Regions from separate parts of the Homo sapiens genome. Here regions 1 and 3 are each linked to region 2. The links are contacts of gene promoters, found by promoter capture Hi-C in human tissues and cell types (Jung and others, 2019). All regions are on one chromosome and are shown on one strand. Each heading gives the region's core, a stretch centred on a gene start or on the middle of the fragment in contact. The rest is flanking DNA. Distances are from core to core; before and after follow the strand shown. Region 1 overlaps ANLN (anillin, actin binding protein). Region 2 holds the start of AOAH (acyloxyacyl hydrolase). Region 3 overlaps ELMO1 (engulfment and cell motility 1).

Evidence for each region. Contacts are between HindIII fragments. The study calls those that stand out against the background at their distance.
Region 1: a contact is called between a fragment that was not itself captured here and the fragment with the promoter of AOAH in region 2, in 2 of the 25 tissues and cell types used here (H1 embryonic stem cells and small bowel).
Region 3: a contact is called between a fragment that was not itself captured here and the fragment with the promoter of AOAH in region 2, in 2 of the 25 tissues and cell types used here (H1 embryonic stem cells and bladder).

What each region holds. Positions count from the first base shown.
Region 1 is chr7:36,430,436-36,433,135 of GRCh38, forward strand. The region is part of intron 20 of ANLN (anillin, actin binding protein); the gene reads left to right. Among named protein-coding and RNA genes, the nearest start is that of ANLN, 42 kb to the left of the region's middle. The HindIII fragment of the contact is 4,965 bases long and covers 1-2,700 here.
Region 2 is chr7:36,723,244-36,725,943 of GRCh38, forward strand. AOAH (acyloxyacyl hydrolase) reads right to left here and starts at 1,251. Exons shown (of 21, transcript NM_001637.4): 1 at 779-1,251. The coding sequence starts at 905. The HindIII fragment of the contact is 16,117 bases long and covers 1-2,700 here.
Region 3 is chr7:37,152,593-37,155,292 of GRCh38, forward strand. The region is part of intron 13 of ELMO1 (engulfment and cell motility 1); the gene reads right to left. Among named protein-coding and RNA genes, the nearest start is that of ELMO1-AS1, 160 kb to the left of the region's middle. RefSeq lists an enhancer at 1,086-1,705. The HindIII fragment of the contact is 3,947 bases long and covers 1-2,700 here.

The sequences.
Region 1 (2,700 bases), core at 196-2,695, 290 kb before region 2:
CAAATCTTAGTGAGTCAGACTTTCAAACCCTTTCTTTGAATAGGGAATCCAAAACAGTCATAGTTTTATTATACTATTATAGATAAAGGGAGAAGGATGTCCCAAAGTTCCTCTTCTGACTTAAAGGAACCTCATAGGTATTTATACCTTTTAGGAAATAGAAATGTCAATTTAAATATTATTAGAGCAAACAATTTTGAAGTAAAACAACCAATTAGGATTATACAGTTTTGGGATTGAAGAAAATGGTTAGGCATTCTGGTATGCCCTGAACTATCCAGTTTATACCTGTTGGCCTTGTGTAATTATTAATGGTGCCCCTTTCACCCTCAAAAATATCCCAGCATATAACACATTACACAGTCTCCCTGGTTGTAGGTTATATTTTACAGCTCTTAACATAATCTTTGAAGTGTGGATGTCTTAAAAGACTCCTTTGTTAAACACAAAACAGAATAGGATCATACATTTTCACACAAGTCTCCCTCCACACTCAACTAGGGGGAGGGGTAGTAAACTTGACGTTTTTGTGAATATTTTCAATTTACTTCTTTATCAGGACAAGCTTCTAACCAAAAATATTGTCTACTTTTCCTCAGCTACAGAGTAAGAGGGCACATTTTCTTCTCATTGTTCTGATTTTTGTTATCAGTAGCATGCTCTGTGCTAAACAATGGAATTCTGTTAAATACCATTGAGAGGAAAGAGCCTAAGGAACTTAAAACTCACTGTAAGGAAAAGCAAAAAGGGAATTTTTACAAAATAGGATGATGAGGCATATGATGTTTTGGTTCTGCATTGTGGATCGGTTTCAAATTTGGGCAGTTGGAGGTTCATCTCATGAAATTAGTCTACTGAAATTTATACTTTTTGTCTTAGAATTCCCCCTTTAAGTTATCTTTGCTATGTTAGAGGGTCAAATCATTGGAAACTAATTATACTAAAAACTCAAATTTAGACTTAACTAAGATTAATCCAGTTGGGATGCCATTCTTTTTCCCTGGGCAATAGAAATGACAGACACTTCCATCTTCCTTTCTATCTTGACTCAGAAGTCAATGTTACTTTAGATATCTGTCTATCTATCTATCTATCATATATATATGTGTGTATATATGTGTGTGTTTGTGTGTGTGTGTGTGTGTGTGTGTGTGTGTGTGTGTATATATATATATATATATAATATATATATATATATTACCATTTTATTCTTGATTTCAGGGACAAATCATTGATGGAACCAATCCAGGCCTTGTATAACCAAAAGACTAGCAGTTGGCGTTTATCTTTTCCCTTCAAGGCTTGGGTGTTAGCAGCTTTATAGATAAGGGCAGTTCTGATCATAAACCCACTTACCTTTACACAAAACAGGAGTTAGCCTATCCCTTCTGCCTTAAATTCTGGTTCTCACTTCCTTGCTAATAAATGTCCCTTGTGGCTTTCTTTTTTCCCCCCCAGAATAGGGCACTTTTATCTGAATTAAAAATTTGTTCAGGTTGGGCACTGTAGCTCATACCTACAATCCCAACACTTTGGGAGGCCAAAGTGGGAGGATCGTTTAAAGCCAGAAGTTCAATACCAGCCTGAGCAACATAGATGATGAAAACAGTTTTTTTTCATCAAAGAATAAAAAAATATTAGCTGGGTGTGGTGGTACACACCTGTAGCCCTAGCTATTCAGAAGGCTGAGATGGGGGAATTGCTTGAGCCCAGAAGTTCAGAAGTTCAAGGCTGCAGTGAGCTATGATCACGCCACTGCACTTCAGCCTGAGTGACAGAGTGAGACCTTGTTTTGGAAAACAATAACAAAAAACAAACTTGTTCAGGCAGATATCCTTTTTCTTCACTGATTTTCTTAATGGTGTCTGGGAACTCATCTCCTGTCTCATTTGGTAGAAGCTGCTTCTTCTGTTGTATCTTGACATTTTTAAAGCCTCTTTCTAAAATTATCAAACCATCCTTTGCTGGCATTAAATATTCAAGTTGAAGATCCTTCACCTTCCTTTAATCCTATATTAGAGTCTATAGGTGTGTCTTTCTTATAGCAATCCTGCACTCACATAAAAACTGTATTTTCAATATAAGATCAAAATGTATTTCACAAAAAATGCATCTTTATATTTGTTTACATTTCTCCTGACTGAATGGTGCCATGTACAGTCTGTGTAAGTTATAGAAAACGTTTGCCAACTCGTAGTCTACCATTTTGTTATTTGTTTTCTATTTGTTTCGTCTGTTCTTTACTGCTTTGTTTTCCCTTTCCTGCCTTCTTCTGGATTAATTGAGTATTTTGGTAATCCTTTTTAATCTCCTCTTTTGGATTTTTTAGCTATACTTACCTGTTTTTGTTTTTGTTTTTTAAGGCGTTGGTAGGAAATAATGTATGCATCCTTACCTTATTAAAGTCTATTTTGAAATACTGTTACACTGCTTCATGTAACTTACAATATGAACCTCACAACAGTATAGTTCATTTTCCCATCCCAGTATATTTTACTTCTTTGTTATAAACCACACAATGCACTGTTGTTACTTTTTCTTTAATCAGTTTTTTTCTTTTTTAAGAGATGGGGTCTTGCTATGTTTTCCAGGCTGGCCGTGAACTCCTGGGCTCAAGCCATCCACCTGCCTTGCCTCCCAAAATGCTGGGGTTACAGTTGTGAACTACTGTGCCCAGCCTCTTGAATCAATTTTTAAAAG
Region 2 (2,700 bases), core at 1-2,500:
CATCTAAATGCCACCACTATTATGAGAATTCCCATGTTATGAGAGCTACAATGTGAATATCAAAGATCTTACCTTACTTCCTGCTCTCATCCAAAAAAAACAAACAAAAAAAACCTCTTGGAAATAAAACACTTCATTAACAGATGAGCCAAGAAGCCATATCAACGCTCAGCGTCTCCAGGTGATCGCCAAATCTGGATTCTCTGAGAGACGGAAGGAAGCTAAGATGGTTGAGTCCTTACTGTGTGCACATGCCACAGATTTACATGCATGGTCACAATTTCCATGGTATCCCTATGAGATGGGTCTCACTCACTTCAGTTCACCAATAAGGACACAGAAGCATGGAGAGGGTTAAGTACATTGCTCCAGGTTTCCACAGCCAGTAGGAAATGGGAGAGAAGGGTAGGAGGAGGGCAGTGATTCAAACTCAGATGTGTTTATATGAGGTCAAAGCCCATGAAAAGCAGTAAAAATTTCAGACTAAAATAGCCTGAAATAATAGTTACCTATACAAGAAGAAAAAATTCCAATCGCCAATGAGGTGGAAGAGTTTTATGCCCAATTTAAACTAGTATGCTTTTTATTCACATAGATGTATGTAGTGTCAATGTCTACTCTTAGACTCCACATTTCTCTGTGTCAGTGAGGTTACTGGTGCCTTACCTGGAATCTTACAATTCTTGATTTAATAAAATATGTGATTTATTACGCAAGCAAAGTACTGGATCCCATTGTTATGTCTACATAGAAAATACAAAAATATTTATTTGCATACCTACACAGGTGTGCCCATTCGAGAGGCTGGGCCTGGACTGGTCATCGTTGGCTGGAGAGGCCGAGGACTGAAGAGACAGGAGCAAGAATAGAGGCGCCACCGTAAGGATTTTCCAGGGGGACTGCATCTCCGAGCTATGCACCCCAAGTGATCACCCGGCTTTGGAAGCTCCCAACTGAGGGATGCTGGAGCTGAGGCTGCAGAATCAATTGATCTCTCTCTCCTTCTCTTCCTCACTCTCTTTGACACACACACCCCACCCTCTCACATACACACTTTTCAATAAGTGTGAAGTGAATAAAAGCACACATAAACACTCACAGACCCACAGCTTGCTCTTGTTGGACCCTGAGAGAGCCACACACAAAGAGCTGGAGGGAGTCTGTGGTGTGCGGTTCTGCTGAGGTAAAGACTGCAGGATAAAGAAAACCCAAGTTGCACAGTGGCACAACTTCCGTGCTCCCTGGCTCAGTGAAGTTAGTGTGCATAAACCCCGTGAGCCTCGAGGCTTGCCGGAACTGATCTGTTGGGTTGGTTAGGAGGCCCTTCCCCTTTCATTCTTGCAAAACAAAACAAAACGATACTAAAGCCAAAACTGAGAAGAAAAAAGAAAAAAAAAACTAATCCACAAGCACACAACCCTTTAACAATTTGATCAGCAGCACCCACATATTGTAGAAATTCTAATTGGTTACATTCAGAACTTACTTAGTCTTGTTTTCAACAGCTTTATATGGTAAGGTTGTGATCCTTATTTTGTTGTAAAAGGATATTCTGGTCAAATAATATCTTTCCTCTGGAGAAATTGGGTTATTCCTTGAAGGGTCAAGGCCTTTTATTTGGTGTGCAGAAAATAAACAGTACAGAAAATAATGGGCAGTTAGCATGGTGGGATTTTAGACCTAATGAGAAAAAACATGGGTTAGAATTAATCAATTCACAGTTGCTAGGCTGTGCACAATGCATCTTTTTTTTCTCCAGAATTTCGAAGTGCATTTTGTGGATGATTTGTTAAGAGACTGATTTTCTGCTCTGAAGAATAGAACTGAACACTGTCTTTCTGAGGGAAAAAAAAAATCGGAACCAGATCATAGATAAAAGACATATAATCTAAATGTTTCTCTCTAAAATAAGATAAAACAAAATCATATGCCATTCTCAGTCAAGATAAGAGGACAGGGCCAAAGTACCACAGTCTAGGTAAGTGTAGGAGGTCATGAGATTCTGTTTCTCTCTGCTTAGGCTCTGAGGGAGCTTATTACAAATTTTGAAATATTATAGAAGCTATCTAAATTGTTAGCAATTAAAAAAAATAGCATTTGGAGTAGCAGGCAAAGTTTTAGAGTAGCATCCTTTCCAGGATGTAGGAAATACCAGTTTTTATGGTTGGAAGATTTCTTGTGCAGTCATTAGTCTTACAAGCACCGATGGGGCTACAATTCCCAAACCTGCTGCAGAGATAGCACAAGTCAGAGTGTTTCCCTAATTACACTTCCAGCCCAATACTGAGGATATCGTTAGGCGTCCATGGGCCTGTGACTTCCTCTGACTCTAAGGTGCTGCTGCTTCAGTTCTTCACTCTGTGACTAAGGGGAGCTCTGGGGTCACTAGGACCACCACAGGGGTGAGGCCTAGAGAAGTTCCAGAGACTTCCAAGGGAGGCTAAATAAAGGACTGATTGATTAGGAACTCAGATTGTGAAGACAGAAAGGCTCATGCTTACGTCTCATGTCTACTGTTTATTCTGAGTAATATATTAGACCAGTGATGTAACTTTCCCCCCTTCAGTGTCTTGTTTTTGTTGTTGTTGTTGTTGTTTGTTTGTTTTTTGAGACAGGGCCTTGCTTTTTCATCCAGGCTGGAGTGCAGTGGTGTGATCACAGCTCACTGCAGTGTTGACCTCCTGGGTTCAAGTGATCTTC
Region 3 (2,700 bases), core at 194-2,693, 430 kb after region 2:
ACATGTATACACACGATCGTAAAAGCATTTAGAAATGGTGGGAAGCATACACTCAGATGGCTAACACTCAGCACCGGAAAGAAGGGAGGCTGAAAAAGAGAGGGGTAGCTTCATTTAGTGAAGTTAAGGAGAAAAGGCTCTGGTTTAAAAAAGAAGAAAATGAAAGGAACAGAATTTGCGATATAAACTTCTATGTAAATATATTAGAAAGCACCAGATTATCAATCTACTTAGATGTGAGCATGTTCATGATGAACTGAGAAATGAAAAAAGCAAGTTTTTGTATAATGTGTATAAGCTGGTTGTGTTGGAGCAAAATCCAAACAAATGGTAGTTATCTCTGCATATGTCTCCAAGGGGTATCTGCCGGAGCGGACACCTATAAGGGACACACGTGGGGAAGGATCCATCAAGCTGCTCAGAGAAGGAGTGAGGGGCAGGAAAAGCTGGAACCAATTTCTGAAAGTGTATTTTTTGATAGTAATTATACTAACCTCAACCTCCTCCAACAAGTAGGCACTTCGGGAATTATATCTCACAGAAAAATGACTTTAAGAATAGACTTACGGGTCACTTCCAAGATGGCCAAATAGAAACAGCTCCGGTCTACAGCTCCCAGTGATATTGACGCAGCAGACGGGTGATTTCTACATTTCCAACTGAGGTACCTGGTTCATCTCACTGGGACTGGTTGAATAGTGGATGCAGCCTATGGAGGGCGAGCCAAAGCAGGGTGGGGCATCACCTCACCCGGGAAGCACAAGGGGTCCAGGGATTTCCCTTTCCTAGCCAAGGGAAGCTATGAGTGACTCTACCTGGAGGAACGGTACACTCCTGCCAAAATACCGTGCTTTTCCCACAGTCTTCACAATCGGCAGACCAGGAGATTCCCTCCTGTGCCTGGCTTGGCTGGTCCCACGCCCACAGATCCTTGGGATGCTAGCACAGCAATCTAAGATCAACCTGGGATGCTGGAGCCTGGCAGGGGGAGGGGTGTCTGCCACTGCTGAGGCTTGAGTAGGCGGTTCTATGTTCACAGTGTAAACAAAGCAGCAGGGAAGCTCAAACTGGGCAGAGCCCACCACAGCTCAGCAAGGCCTACTGCCTCTCTAGATTCCACCTCTGGAGGCAGGGCGTATCTGAACAAAAGGCAGCAGACATCTTCTGCAGACTTAAACATCTCTACCAGACAGCTCTGAAGAGAGCAGTGGTTCTCCCAGCACAGGGTTCAAGATCCGATAATGAACAGACTGCCTCCTCAAGCAGGTCCCTGACCCCCGAGTAGCCTGACTAGAAGACACCTCCCAGTAGGAGCAGACAGACACCTCATACAGGTGGGTGCCCCTCTGGGACAAAGCTTCCAGAGGAAGGATCAGGCAGCAATATTTGCTGTTCTACAGCCTCCAGGGGTGTTACCCAGGCAAAAAGGGTCTGGAGTGGACCTCCAGCAAACCGCAACAGACCTGAAGCTGAGGGGCCTGTCTGTTAGAAGGAAAACTAACAAACAGAAAGGAATAGCATCAACATCAACAAAAAAGGACATCCACACCAAAACCTCATCTGTAGGTCACCAACGTCAAAGACCAAAGTTAGATAAAACCACAAAGATGGGGAGAAACCAGAACAGAAAGGCTGAAAATTCCAAAAACCAGAGCACCTCTTCTCCTCCAAAGGATCGCAGCTCCTCTCCAGCAAGGGAACAAAACTGCATGGAGAATGAGCTTGACGAGCTGACAGAAGTAGGCTTCAGAAGGTCGGTAATAACAAACTTCTCCGAGCTAAAGGAGCATGTTCTAATCCACCACAAGGAAGCTAAAAACCCTGAAAAAAGGTTAGATGAATAGCTAACTAGAACAACCAGTGTAGAGAAGAGCTTAAATGACCTGATGGAGCTGAAAACCACAGTACGAGAACTGCGTGAAGCATACACAAGCTTCAATAGCCGATTTGATCAAGCGCAAGAAAGGATATCAGTGATTGAAGATCAAATTAATGAAAAAGAGCGAGAAGACAAGATCAGAGAAAAGAGTGAAAAGAAACTAACAAAGCCTCTAAGAAATACGGGACTATGTGAAAGACCAAATCTACATTTGACTAGTGCACCTGCAAATGACGGGGAGAATGGAACCAAGTTGGAAAACACTCTGCAGGATATTACCCAGGAGGGCTTCCCCAATCTAGCAAGGCAGGCCAACATTCAAATTCAGGAAATACACAGAATACCACAAAGATACTCCTTGAGAAGAGCAACCCCAAGACACATAATTGTCAGATTTACCAAGGTTGAAAGGAAGGAAAAAATGTTAAGGGCAGCCAGAGAGAAAGGTCAAGTTACCCACAAAGGGAAGCCCATCAGACTAACAGCGGATCTTTCTGCAGAAACCCTACAAGCCAGAAGAGAGTAGGGGCCAATATTCAACATTCTTAAAGAATTTTCAACCCAGAATTTCATATCCAGACAAACTAAGCTTCATAAGTGAAGGAGAAATAAAATCCTTTACAGACAAGCAAATGCTGAGAGATTTTGTCACCACCAGGCCTGCCTTACAAGAGCTCCTAAAGGAAGCACTAAACATGGATAGGAACAACTGATATGAGCCACTGCTAAAACATGCCAAATTGTAAAGACCACTGATGCTAGGAAGAAACTGCATCAATTAATGGGCGAAATAACCAGCTAGCATCATAATGACAGTATCA